Regions from separate parts of the Homo sapiens genome. Here region 2 is linked to region 1. The links are contacts of gene promoters, found by promoter capture Hi-C in human tissues and cell types (Jung and others, 2019). All regions are on one chromosome and are shown on one strand. Each heading gives the region's core, a stretch centred on a gene start or on the middle of the fragment in contact. The rest is flanking DNA. Distances are from core to core; before and after follow the strand shown.

Evidence for each region. Contacts are between HindIII fragments. The study calls those that stand out against the background at their distance.
Region 2: a fragment that was not itself captured here is called in contact with the fragment with the promoter of ZDHHC21 in region 1 in 1 of the 25 tissues and cell types used here (lymphoblastoid cells).

Annotation. Positions count from the first base shown.
Region 1 is chr9:14,692,182-14,699,176 of GRCh38, forward strand. ZDHHC21 (zDHHC palmitoyltransferase 21) reads right to left here and starts at 1,251. Exons shown (of 10, transcript NM_178566.6): 1 at 1,048-1,251. RefSeq lists silencers at 893-1,032, 1,113-1,182 and an enhancer at 1,256-1,756. The HindIII fragment of the contact is 8,706 bases long and covers 1-5,827 here.
Region 2 is chr9:14,725,478-14,732,472 of GRCh38, forward strand. No RefSeq gene overlaps it. Among named protein-coding and RNA genes, the nearest start is that of CER1, 6.2 kb to the left of the region's middle. The HindIII fragment of the contact is 4,002 bases long and covers 2,241-6,242 here.

The DNA of each region.
Region 1 (6,995 bases), core at 1-2,500:
AATCTAAAGAGTTGGAAGAATTTAATATTACACCAAAAGCCTTTTAATCCAGGAATGGCGCATACTAAGCAGTCATCAAATGGTGACTGTTATTAATATTATTCTTACCACAAGGAAAGCAGTGAATTTTTAAAAGTGCATATATTAGCATAGTAGGCTGAGGACCTATTTAACACATCTTTTTAAATTGCACTTAATTATCCTTAGTCGCCTTTGGACTGTAACTTTACAATATAATTTATGACCCGCCCACAATGACCTTGATTTTTTTTTCTCTTCTACTTTTAGAGACTGCTATATTGCAATATTTTAAAGTAATAATTGGTCATGTCCTCTCAGCCCTGGTGATACAGACATCCACCCTGACTCTCAAGGGATCTTAAAATGTGACCCACATATAGCTTGAAAAAGACCGTAACTTAAATGGACTCTGCAGTTACAATCCAGCGACCTGTTACAGTGAACAGTAACAAGTGCAAACTGCTGCCATCCATAAGCCATTTTCCGAAAACCTCTTTGGATCAAGAGGAGAGGAGTGAGAAGGTCAATAAAGGAGCAAACTGTTTGTCCTCTCTGCAGCTTCACACCAGAAGTCTGGAATGAATGAAAAGCTCTGGAATAGCACAGAGAAACCCGGGATCCCAGTGCAGGTCTCCAGACGGGGGTGCGGGGAGAGAAACTGTAGTTTACAAGCGAGAAACTCAGGATACAGATTTAAAATAAATAAATAAATAACTAGCCAACATCGTCTCGACTAGAGCAGGAACCCCCCACCCCCAGTTGAGGGAGGAGCACTTAGCAAGGGGCTGTAGCTCTAGCAGAAGACGCTCTGAAAAAGGCCAGGCCTGGGGCGGGGAGGCACCGAGAAACCCCCGGGTTCCAAACAGAGCAGGTGCAGGGGGCGTGCAGGAACAGGTGAGGGCGTCCCGGCGCGGAGGAGCGGCGGGCGGGCCCGGCAGAGCGGAGCGGGGGCCGGGGATGGGGGTGGGGGTGCGGATGGGGATGGGGGTGGGGGCGGCCGCTTCGCCCCCGCGCCTGCACACTCACCGTCGCCGCTGGCTCGCCTCTCGCTGCCGCCGCTCTCCCGACCGCCAGCAGCTCTTTCCCCTCCTCCTGCCGCGCCACCTCCGCCTCCTCCGGCGCCGCCGCCCAGGCCGGGCCGCTCTCCCCTTCCGCTTCCGGGAGCCTGAGGGCCTGGACCGGCCGAGTGGGTGTCCGCATGCCCGCGCGCCCGCGTGGGGAGGGACGACTGCCGCCGTCGCCGTCTCGCTTAGCTCCCGGGAGCCGCGATGGGAGCCGCTGAGGGCCGAAACTCCTGCAATCGCGCCGCAGCCCCAGAGCCGCGGACCCAGGCAGACCGCACTCTCCAGAGCGCTTGCACCTGGCGCGCCTGGGCGCCTCTGCCCCTCCCCAGCCCTACTTGAGCCGTCCTTCTCATTGTCCCCATATCCTCACTGCTCACCTCTCCCGAGAGACAGGATGGGGGCCTTAGCTTAAAAGATTGCATGTATCCTTTCTTCGGGGGATGTGGCCAGCAGGCCTCTCTCCCCGCAGGTGTTCTGGGATGTCCCATGGTACCTTGCTTCAAAGCGCGGTCTGCAGCATCAGCATCCTCTGGGAACTCACAATCTTTGAAATGCACAATTTCAGGCCTGCTGAATCAGTACATGCACTTCAGCAAGATCACCAGGTGACTCCTGGGGTGCACCGTAAAGATGGAAAAGCATTGCACTGTAGTGCATGGTCTCGTCCACTTCAGACCCTCTATTGGGTTGCCTCAGACATCCCAGGATATTTCCTGTTCCTGTCCTCAACCTAAATCCACACCCAAACAATCTTTTCTTATATTTTGGGAGACCTCCAAAAGTTTCCTGCTTTCCCATCCCTGCAAAAGCCGACAACTTTTGGACTCAGCGATGCAAGTAATCCACCTCTCAGTCTAACTTGGTATCTTCACCAAACACCAGAGATCTACTAACTTTCCCACCTCACTCCGGCTGAACAGTATTTGGGGAAGGTTAAACCGTTTGCAGTAATGTGGAGCTAGATCTTTCTGCCCACGTGCCACAGGAGGAGACAGTGTGTTGGTGGAAGAAATATTACCTGTTGTATAAAATCTGTATTCCTTATAAGATGTGCTTAAAAGCCCTCCACAGACACATCCCTACCTACCTCTCCAGTCTTAGCTCCAACTAATTTGGTTCATTTCCCCATTCTAGAATGCCCTGCTCTCTGATGATCTTAACCCTATCCAGATTTGAGAGTGGAAATCTTGCCAAACCAGAGTTCTCTCACCACTGCCCTTATATAGTGCACATTGTTGCCTGTTTGGGGCCTCATATTACCTTGTATTGCTAAGGATTTTTAAACATGTTGTGTCCTGGTTTCTGAACTAATTATAAACACCTTGTGACCTTAAAAACTTTGGTCAGTGGTTATCAAAGTGGGATCCCTAGACCAGCAGCATCGGTATCACCTGTCAACTTGTGAGAAATCCATATTCTTTTGCCCCATCCCAGATCTACTGTAGTAGAAACTGTTTAGGTGTAGCCCAGCAATCCGTGATGTAACAAGCCTTTTAGGTGATCCTAATACACACTCAAGTTTTAGAATTACTGACCTAGATTACTAGATATTCCCAAAAGAACCCAGTGGTAGGAATTGATTTACCCATAAGCAGATTTTATTGCCTTTCAGGTTAACAAATACACTCCCCGATATATGCATAGCGAGGTTGAAAGACTAGTCACGATTGCTTTTGATAGAATTACCTTTATTTTTCATAAATCATTTGATGTAGTAGGATTTTTGTAACTTTCTCTGTTTGAAAAGAAGGAGATATTTCATATAAACAATCACTTTGAAGGAAGAGGAAATGTGGAATCCTCCCACCGGAATCCAGCTACCTGATTGCGTATTCAATGTGAATCCCTTCTACCCAAATCCAGCTACCTGATTGCATATTAAATGTGGACTCCTCCCTACCCGAATCCAGCTACCAGAATTGCATATTAAATGTAAAATCCCCCCCCCACCCAAATCCAGCTACCCAATTGCATATTAAAAGTAGAATCCCCTCCACCTGAATCCAGCTACATGAATTGCATATTATTTTGCTTTCTCTTCAGATACCCCTGTGAGAGGGAATAATTTGTGACAAGTGATCTCAAAACTGCCAAAATAAGAATTAGTTGACAGGTCCATGATTGCACATGACAATTGGAAGTGCATGGATTTTTCAGTCCCTTTTTAAAATAAGTTAGCCTGTCTTTTATCAGCCAAATCAATTCCACAGAGAATTTTTAAGCAAGGGAATAGGAGAGAAGAGGCAGGAGAAACATCCTTAAAAACATGAACCTTTTTAGCATGGGCATTTCATGAGTATAATCAAAGGCCTGCCTATCCCTTACACTGAAGGTCAAGTCATCTGGTTCTATCATTCATGCTAATCATTGGTTATATTGTATTGCAACCCATACATTCAGGCACCTGGGTAACAATAAGGGGGTGAGGGAGATGTGGCATCAGGTAATCTTTTGAAAAGATTTTCTATTTACTGGGTATATTATGGAAAGACGATATAGATCGTACCATATTTTTTCCCTCCAGAATTCTAATCTACTTCATGGGGCCTGGGACAAACTGAAATGTGATTATTAATCAAACTAATATTTATCTGGAAGTAGAAAAAGTAGACAAGGACAAGTAGCATTGCTGCCACTGCCAACCAAGCTTCTAACAAAGGCACACTCAGGGCATTTATGAGGGTAAACACAGCCAACTCCTGTGCTTCTGTGCCGTGACTAGGGAGGATCTGGATTTTAGTGCAATTTCCAAAAATCAGTGCAGTCCAGAGTTTAATCAGTACTGGCTAATAGCCCTTGGCAGCTTTGGATGGATGGCATTCTCCACCTGCCCAGCTGGGTACCATGCCTTAAGCACCCATATTTGATGCACATTCATGATTTCTTGGTTGCCTATAGTTGTCTCTCCCATCTGTTTGAGTGGCAGAGTGCCTGTGCCATAACAATCTAATATTCTAAAAGTTGTTCTTAACCTCTTCTCTTTTGGGTTACACATCTCTTTGAGTATCTGATGAAAGTTGTGGACCCCAGCAAAGTACACATATACACAAATACACACACACACACACACACACACACATATATACACACACACATACAGGAACATATATATTTATATATATGAAATTTATATATATGAAGTTTCACAAGTTGCCCCACCTTCCTATGCCTCCAAAGGATCACAGCGAAGCCAGGAACTTCAGGCTAAGAAATATCCCTAGAATGTAGAGAGTAGGTAAAATAAACATTTTTCCCCAAATATCAAGGAAAACTGCAAAACAAACAAACAAAAACGACTGTGTGCTTAGGAGAAAAAAACAATAGCAGTGCTAAACAGAGTTACAAGGAAAGTTTTATGGAAGTGCTAATGAAGAAACTAGTAATTTCCATGGGATAGTTCAAGGGTGGCTTCTTGGAGAATGGTTCCTGTATCAGGCAAGTGAGAATAGGATTTTGATTGGGGGAAAGGAGGGAAAGAAATTTCAGGACAGAGGAAAGTGTAAGCAAAAACATAGAGAAATGAAAGTGCAAGAATCCCTCTGGTGTGGCTCAAAGGTAGGATACATGGAAAGAGAGAGGGCTGGAAATGTGGAACAGATTCCAAGCATGGTGAGCCTCAGAAACAATGCTATTCCCAATGAAGAGTCCTTAGGCTTTTGGCAAAAGGTGATGACCTGCTCCAAGCTGGAAAAGACTATTAGTGAGGGCAGTGGTATTATCAAAAGGCAGAGTAGTGGGGCATCTGGAAAGGTTCTAAGTATACTACATTGGAACCTGTTAGGCCACATTGCTTTACCTCAACTTTGGATTGTTTGATGGTGGCTCTAGAAGTTTCTATTCAATTAAATCATGATGAACCTGAGATTCTTACACTTGGTTAAGTGCTAGTAGGAAAACGCATCCTAGTGAATGTTCTGATGAGTTGAGTCTAGGATGCTGAAAGAGTTAAAATCTCTTTTGGATTAAAAGAGTGAGAATCAATTTGGACTGAAAAGAGAAAAGAAGCCCTGCCACTAATCAGACAAGGAGGACAGACACAGATAAAGCCAGCTGCAAAATTAGCAGGAAACACTTTCTGCCAAGGTCATGCAGCAGTTATAAAGTGCCATAATGATCCCCTCTTTAGGTGATTGCTGACTTCTCACCAATGATGCCCCTGACTGCTGGCTATTTTCATTTATTACTAGAGATACCCAATTGCTCAGCCATCATCCCCTCATGACAGCATCCAATCCTGGCTAAATCTCTCTTTTCCTAATCCCACCTCAAAACAACCAATCCAAAATGGATACCTGCTTCCCTTAGATGCTCCTCAAAATTCTTCAATGGAAGTTCAATTTACAAAAGATGCCTCCTTCCTCCCTCTTGCCTAGGAGTGACATCTCTCTATGCAAGGCAATAAATATGAGTTTGTCAGGCTACAGGTGTAATCCTCTAGGTTTTAACAACTCATTTGATGATGAAAGTTTTCCACTCCCCAGGACTCAAAGTCAAGAAAGAGTCTCCCTTTCCGTGTCAATAGCACAATAAAGTAGCTTCCATTACAAGTAATAAGGCTCATAAGTTCACACAGGGACTCTTCCAATATGGGAGGAAGCAAGGCTTTGACTAGGTCATCCTCATCCCTCATCTTTTGAAGAAATGTGGATTGATGTAGAAAGCAGAGGAAACAGGTGCTTTCTAAAAAAAAATTGTGAGTAGAGTCTATTCACAACAGCTTAATTTAAGTAAATAGAATTAACAGAGTCCCAAGATAATAGGGAAGTAAAATGGGTATAGAAAAGTGATTTAAAAAGTCCTTCCCTATCAAAATATAAATAACATATTAAAAGTAGGACAATTTTGATGGTGCCAACCTCTTTGCATGAAGGACGGAGATTGAGATTTTTGTTGAGAGAGTTCATTATAAAGAAAATAGCAAAAAGGAAACAAATGTCCTAGCAATAGATAAATAAAGTGGGCGTCTATGGCTGAACTAGGGAAGCAAGTTCAAGGTTGCAATATGGCTTCAGGGAATCTCTGCCAGCAGGAACAATTGAGAATGTAAGAGTGGATTTGGTCACCAAGAAATGGGATGCAGTAGGAGAAGAGAGCGAAGGGCAGAAACAACCACAGTACCTTTAAGGATCAGATAGAGAAAGAAATGATTCAAGAATCTCCTATGTTTCAACTACTTCCAAGTCAATATATCCAGCCCTGCACTCTATTGGGCTCCAGAGCCATAAATTCTAGAAGCCCCACTACACACTTGTTATGATGGCTCAAATGGGTGCGAAGTCTGTAGGACCAGTCATGAAAAATAAGAGAGTACTGCTGTTCTCACACATATCAGGTTAAGGTTCTGTGTCTCCCTTCCTCTAAGAGACTACTTCTTGTTTGTTTGCAAGGAAAATAAAAAATATCTACTAATCTCTTGGATAGTGCCCCTTTTATTTTTAATCTCTTTGCCCCTCAAATATATATATATATATGTCTTCATTAATAACTTAGCGAGAAAGTTGTCACTTTGTACCCCAGATAAAGCAAAGGAAGTTGTAAATGGTTTTATCATTGGCCCACAATTTCTGCCACAGGAAGACTAAATGATTAAAAAAAAAAAATCAGAAGTTTCTGCCTTGACTGGGAAGTTATCAGGGACATCTCTGCAGAGATTTGGCTATAAGAACAAAGGTCATACATCTATCCTTGTTCACTCCCATACATGAAGGGAGAAATGACAAATTGGGGGTCTAGCGCACTTTGCATGCATTCTTTAAAGGATCAGATATAGTTTTGTTTGTTTGTTTGTTTGTTTTTGAGATGGAGTCTCTGTTGCCCAGGCTGGAGTGCAGTGGCATGATCTCAGCTCACTGCAACCTCCATCTACCAGGTTCAAGTGATTCTCCTGCCTCAGCTTCCCGAGTAGCTGGG
Region 2 (6,995 bases), core at 2,992-5,491, 36 kb after region 1:
TTGTAGCTTTCAGCAAAAATATGCTGCCTCTGTTGGTCTTCAGTTGATACAGGCATCTAGTTACCTCCCAATTTGGATGAACCAAATGGAAATGGAAGTAGGTCTGCAGGAGGTCTCCAGACCCAGTAGGAAGCTTTCATGAGGAGACAGCATCGCCAATTATTAGTGCACTTAGTACCAAATGCCACAGTGAAGGGTGAGCCTGAGTTCATGTGAGTGAGCCCAAGCCTCCTAAGTCCACTTCCTGGGCCAACCCTAGACATGCATGAGAACCAGAGGGGCCAATCCCAGAATCCATTCATTTCCATTTACAGTTCAGGCTTTCAGCAGAATCTGACTGTTTTCAACTTGACTTGGGTTTCTTAGGCACTAAGATGTCTTCAGGAACTCTAAAGACCTCGAGAAGATACTTAAATAAAAAATGTTTTCATATGCTGGTGACACTTTTATAAAATGGACAAGAAAAGAGGCCCATGAGACCCAGCCGCTCAAGACACGTTGAGGTGGTTTGTCTCCTTTTCAGACCTCCCCAGTGTGCCTATGAGAGGACAGCAACAGCTACATTTTCTGTCCCTCTTACAGACTCTCAGAAGACAGTTAAAAAGAAGCCCAGTGCTCTCCAAGGGCGAACAGAGAGACTAAGTTCTTCCCTAAAAACCTATCTTAAATCAACAAAAGGTGAGAGGCAGTGTTGAGGTGGGGGGTGGACATTACAGTTAAACAGGACAACTGAGAGCTGGAAAAGGACATTTGGGTTGAAGGATTCAGGAGAGAAATCTGACTGGGGAGCATGCCACTGCCTCATCACTACCTCTCTTTTCAAAATACAGAATAGCAATCATGTCATGGCAGGTTAGATTATTTTTTTTTTAACTCAGAAGAAAACAGGACCTTTTTTCTTATTTTCCAAGGAACAAGGAAAAGGGAAAATTAGGATATATGATTTCCCCTTAAACTTTTAAATAAACAATTTACTTAATTATTCAAAATGTACACTCCCTCCTCCCCTTTCCATGGAAAAGACACGTGAGGAAGAGCCCCATTCCCTGAAGCTGCTCCTTTAACTGGACTAATTCTTTCATTCTTACAGCGCACACCTGAGTGCCAGCTCTGTTCTAGGAACTGGAGATAAGTGTTGAGAGTGTCTTTGTTCAGTTTCAGGTCTAGTGGATTTTGCAATCTATAGGGACAGCCTAGTATATTCAAAATAAGTTTTACAGGGAAAATTTAGGCCAGGCATGGTGGCTCATGCCTGTAATCCCAGCACTTTGGGAGGCGAAGGTGGGCAGATCACCTGAGGTCCAGAGTTCGAGACCAGCCTGGCTAACATGGTGAAATCCTGTCTCCACTAAAAATACAAAAATTAGCTGGGCATGGTGGCTGGTGCCTGTAATCCCAGCTGCTTTGGAGCCTGAGGCAGGAGAATTGCTTGAACTTGGGAAGTGGAGGTTGCAGTGAGCCAAGATCATGCCACTGCACTCTAGCCTGGGCGACAAAGGGAGACTTCATCTCAAAAAAAAAAAAAGAAAGAAAGAAAGAAACAAAATTTAGGCAGGCATCATTCCTGTACTAATCAGGGACTTTCAAGTAGAGCCAAATCCCAAAGATGCAGTGAACTGTATGCTTTATTTGTGCTAATTTTATTCAATAATAAATATTTGTTGAATTCAAGGAAGCACTGTAGACATGGTGCAGTACATTTCTTTTATTTTTGAGTAGGTAATAAATACGCATAGTAACAAAATTCAAATAACACACAAAAAAATGCACAACGAAAGGTTGATCTTCCTCTGACTCCACCCCAGGCTGCCTGTCCTTGCCATGGAGAGAACCATTATTATCAGTTTCTTTATTCAATCTTTTAAAACTGTCACCCAAAGATACCAAAATGTGTGACCAGTGGAAAAGGACAAATATCAAATGGTGTAACTGCCAACAAAAAAATCCCCATTTCCACTTCAAGGCACTGATGGTTAGATTGTCTTTTAAAGATTAGATTATTCTGTTTGTAGTTTCGGTGATCTCACTGCCCTCTGTTCAAAACACCCTCCAACACCATTGAGAAATAGTTTTCTGTATTCTGGGTATTTTGTTTTTTGCATCTGAAGATGTATCTACTACTGTGCACAAGTCATGGACAATATCTACATGTGTCTAATCATCTCCCTACCAAGACTGCAGAGAGGGCTCCTGCAAATCTGAGAATTAGGCCAAGGCAGCCTGAGCTGTCCCTCACCATGTGCCCCACCTTCCTACCTGTCCATCCATCTCCAATGCCTGTGCCTATACTTAGAGCCAGTTCAGGATGCAGTCACTGATGCAACATCTCTGTCCTGCTCCTTCTTCCTCATCTTTAAAATTTACCTTGTCTGTTTTTCCTTCTGTAGAAAGCTGATCTCAGAGCTAAGTAATGTCAGTGGAACTATCTCTGGACTTGAGGCCAAAAAAACTAAATCTGATTCCTCGAACTGCATTACAGCTTGTAAACTCTATGGCATCAGGCACTTAACTTTATGTCCCTGAATGTCTGTAGAGGCAATATTACTTGCCCTGTCTTCCTCATTTAGTCCACGGTCCTTCTTTTCACCCTGAATCTTACTATCATCCTGGGTGACTTCAGTGTCCATGTGGTTGGGTTTGACCATTAGCATTTCATCAGTATCCCATGGAAGTCCCATTCGATACCCTGGCTGAAATCTGACTGCTCTCATGCCAATTGGCCTCCCTACCCCGATTACATTCTGACCCCTGTTACTATCAAGAACAGCTCTACCTCTAAACTGTGAATTCACATTCCACTCTCTCATAACAATATTGTGTTGTTTCAGTTCCTACAGCATCTGTCCCGTACTTTATCTCTATCATAGTACTACCACCTTTGTCATGAAATAATTTTTGACTGAACATTTAACATCTGCCTCCACTTAAGATTTTTTTTTTTTTTTTTTTGAGACAGAGTCTCGCTCTGTTGCCCAGGCTGGAGTGCAGCGGTGCAATCTCGGCTCACTGCAAGCTCCGCCTCCAGGATTCACGCCATTCGCCTGCCTCAGCCTCCCGAGTAGTTGGGACTACAGGCGCCTGCCACCACGCCCGGCTAATTTTTTTGTATTTTTAGTAGAGACGAGGTTGCACCGTGTTAGCCAGGATGGTCTTGATCTCCTGACCTTGTGATCTACCCGTCTTGGCCTCCCAAAGTGCTGGGATCACAGGCGTGAGCCACCGCGCCCGGCCCAGATTTTAAAGTCCATAAAAGTGGGGTCTTTTTAGTCATCAGCTCAGGCTGTAGCACAGCCTTTCACATAGTAAATGCCCTAAAATATTCATGTAATAATAAATGAATAATGTAATTAATTGATTAACATATATAAATTCTTTGTCTTCATTTTCTTCCCTATCCCACTTTAATTCCATGGTCCATCACTTCAAACTTTTGCAATATTTTCCCTAGTCCCTTTTTTATTCTCTCACACACATCTAATAAAAGTCCAACACTGGGCCCGGACGTGGTGACTCACGCCTGTCATCCCAGCACTTTGGGAGACCGAGGGAGGCGGATCACCTGAGTTCAGGACTTCGAGACCAGCCTGGCCAACATGGTGAAACCCTGTCTCTACTAAAAATACAAAAATTAGCCAGGCACAGTGGAGCCCGCCTGTAATCCTGGCCACTTGGGAGGGTGAGGCATGAGAATCGCTTGAGCCCAGGAGGCTGAGGCTGCAGTGAGCCGAGATTGTGCCACTGCACTCCAGCCTGTGCGACAGGGCGAGAGTCTTTCTAAAACAACAACAACAACAAAAAGTCCAACCCTGAAAACACCCAGCTGTTCATCTTAACTGGGCCCACGCCTGGGATAGGGAGTGCTTTTAGAGACACAGACAAAATGGGCAAAAATGGATTCTATACAAATTTCCTTCTGTCTCAACGGAACCCTCAACTCTGCTCACCAATCCTTCTCATTCCTCTATTCAACTCACTTTTCATTTTCCATGTGGGTTAGTGAAAATCTTCTCTAATTACCTAAAACCTTTGACTGCTCTGCCTCTTTCCTCGTTTTTGATAGATGACCCCTTTTTCTGCAGAGAAAGATAGAACCCATCAGATAAGTGAGTCTCCTTACATTTGACCATCAAACCACACCAGTTCGTTTCTCCTTTCCACACTGCTGTTGGAATCACATCCTTTCCAACCACTTTACTCCATAGTCTACCCTGAATGGTCAAACTTTTGCACTCCACTGGATGCTTTTATATAATGTTTGATCATTTCAAATTTTCTTGATTCCATAGAAGTTTTCAGGTTCTGTACTTCAGTGTTGTCTTCTGCGTTTTCCAGTCAAATATTGGCAAGCTTTCTCCCAATCCAACCTCTACTTTCTCACATCCACTTCTGGATTTACAAGGGAGACATCTCCTCCATGTCACTGAGATGTATTTGGGACTCTGAAAAGCCAAGTTCCTTCTTGATTCGGCTATTCGGTGATTCCTCGGGCTTGTCTTAATTTGGGTACATGCATATCTTTCTAACAAGGAAGAGAGGATCCTCAAGGGCAGGGATTATGTTTGCTGGAGACTACATTGTCAGCAACTTTGAGAAAAGGGATTTTGTTTAATGCATTTTTCTGTTTCTTTTCCATTCCTGGTCCCTCAGTCTACATTTAGGAGGTGAATGGATGTTTGTTTTGACATACTGAGTCCAATAAAAATGCGAAAGGAAACTTCTGACATAGGCCCTTGTTGTGTTTTACTTTCTAAGAAGTATCGCTTTGTCCTGGATAACTTATACTTAATTCTCTGTGTTTAGATTCTATTTTAAAATCAAATTTCCATGGAATCTGGGACTAAACCATTCTTCATTTCCCAGCCTGGCCACAGTCTCAGAGCAGGCCTTAGAACATTGTCACACCAGCCACAGTTCCCAGGCATGTCTCCCCTGAAGGATAATCACACTCCTAAAAAAGGTAATTCATGCCAGAGGACTATATGTCTGTTGGGTAACTTTATGCAGCTTGTAAATTGTTTTACTCCAGTTGGAGCATGGGGGTGGTGTATCACCAACAGAAATGAGTGTAGGGGGCATCTGTCTGAAAACTGTTCCCCCACTGGCCACCTTGCCAGTTTCTGCTTATACAATGCAGGCAGCTTGGGGGAACCATATTGTCCCTATAAGCTCATAACACATGGACAAATGATTAAAAACACATGGAAAACAGTTCCACAGCTAAGCTAAAATTCAGATGGGAATGGAAAATCAACTTGCAAAGCTTTCAACTGACTCAGGGCCAAATGTAGGACAGAATGTGAGGAGAAGTTGCCAAAAGAGAGGAAAGTTGGGGAAAAAAGCAAGTCATGGATAGGAAACCTAAAACAATGACGCCTTGTATTGACAACGCTTCTCTAAGGCTCTCCAAGAGTAGTACCAAATTCAACTCTTCGGAAATATTAAGACCTTCACTTCATGAAAGAGTTTAGACAGATTTATATTTTCTACCCTCTATACACAAGAGTTGGCTTGACTATCTTGGCAACACCTAGGCAGAAACATAATCTTAAGTATCTTAAGTAACATAAATATTAAAAGATTACACATTTTTCCTCCGAGGTGTGGGAATTAAGTAACAAGGTGGCATGAGGCAAACTGTGAAAAATTGTGACAATAAAATGAAAAGCAAAGCACAATTTTCCGGTCAGGGTTTGCCTTCTGTTGTACCTGATGCTGGGCCCAGGTTTGCCATCAAGCTGGCAGGCCTTAGTCACATTCGCAAAAGTTCAACTTGGTTCAAATCTTAAACTCTAAGAAGCCTGTTATTTGTGTCTAGTCACTAAAATCACCTCAGTGATTCTACTGGGTAGGAAATCTATAAGCAAGAAAATAATTTACTGGGAGCCAGTCCCTGCTGGGCCATTCTGTGTAGCTTCTGCCCTGAATCCTTACTGACTCCCACATACGCTGAACCACCTTTCTCTCTGATGAGCAGCACTTAGACCTTCAAATGTTGATTTGGGGCATGATTTGCAAACAGTCCTCCTCAATATATGCAACAAATGTGTTCTTTCAATGCTGAATGTAAAAGGAAGTTTTGAAAATATGGCTCCATGGAGGAGCTATGCTCTTTGGGCAATAGAAAATATCACCCAAGTCCAATCCATTAACAAAGCAAATAGGATCATCCTTTCTGTCAAGTGAAAAACTATTCCCTAATTTATCTCTCTTTAGAATGAGATTTGTGTATCATTGATCACATCTGAAAGCAAGATGTCCTGGGGTTTTAGAAAGGACTCCCTTAGTCATGTGGATTCCTCTGAGAACTGAAAACACATGTTGAACACAAATGTCCTAGCACACAGGAAAGTTCTCACTTGTGATATGGCAACTTAAAACCCTAATTCTCCCACCCCCAGCTCCTCCTTCCTGCTGGGGTTGGTTACTGGTGAGAACAAGCACTGCTTGAAGTTGTCACCCTATTCCAAGTGTGGTCAATACTATTCCATTGTAGTCAAAAAACATATTTTGTATGACTTGAATCCTTTAAAATTTATGGAGACTTATTTTATGTCCCAGAATATGGTCTGCCTAGTAAATATGTCATGTGCACTTGAAAATAATGTACATTCTGCTGTTGTTGGATAGAATATGCTATAAATTTCAATTAAGTTAACTTTGTTAATAGTGTCCATGCTTCTATACTCTGATTTTTCTGTCTACTTATTCCCTCAATTATTGAGAAAGAGGTATTGACATTTCTGACTGTAAGTATAGATTTATCTATTTTTCTTTGAAGTTCTACCACATTTTGCTTCGTGCATTTTAAAACTTTGTTATTAGTAGGCAGGGCGCAGTGGCTCACACCTGAAATCCCAGCACCTTGGGAGGCCAAGGTAGGCGCATCACCTGAGGTCAGGAGTTCACCAGCCTGGCCAACACGGTGAAACCCTGTCTCTTCTAAAAATACAAAAATTAGCCAGGCATGGTGGCGGGTGCCTGTAATCCCAGCTACT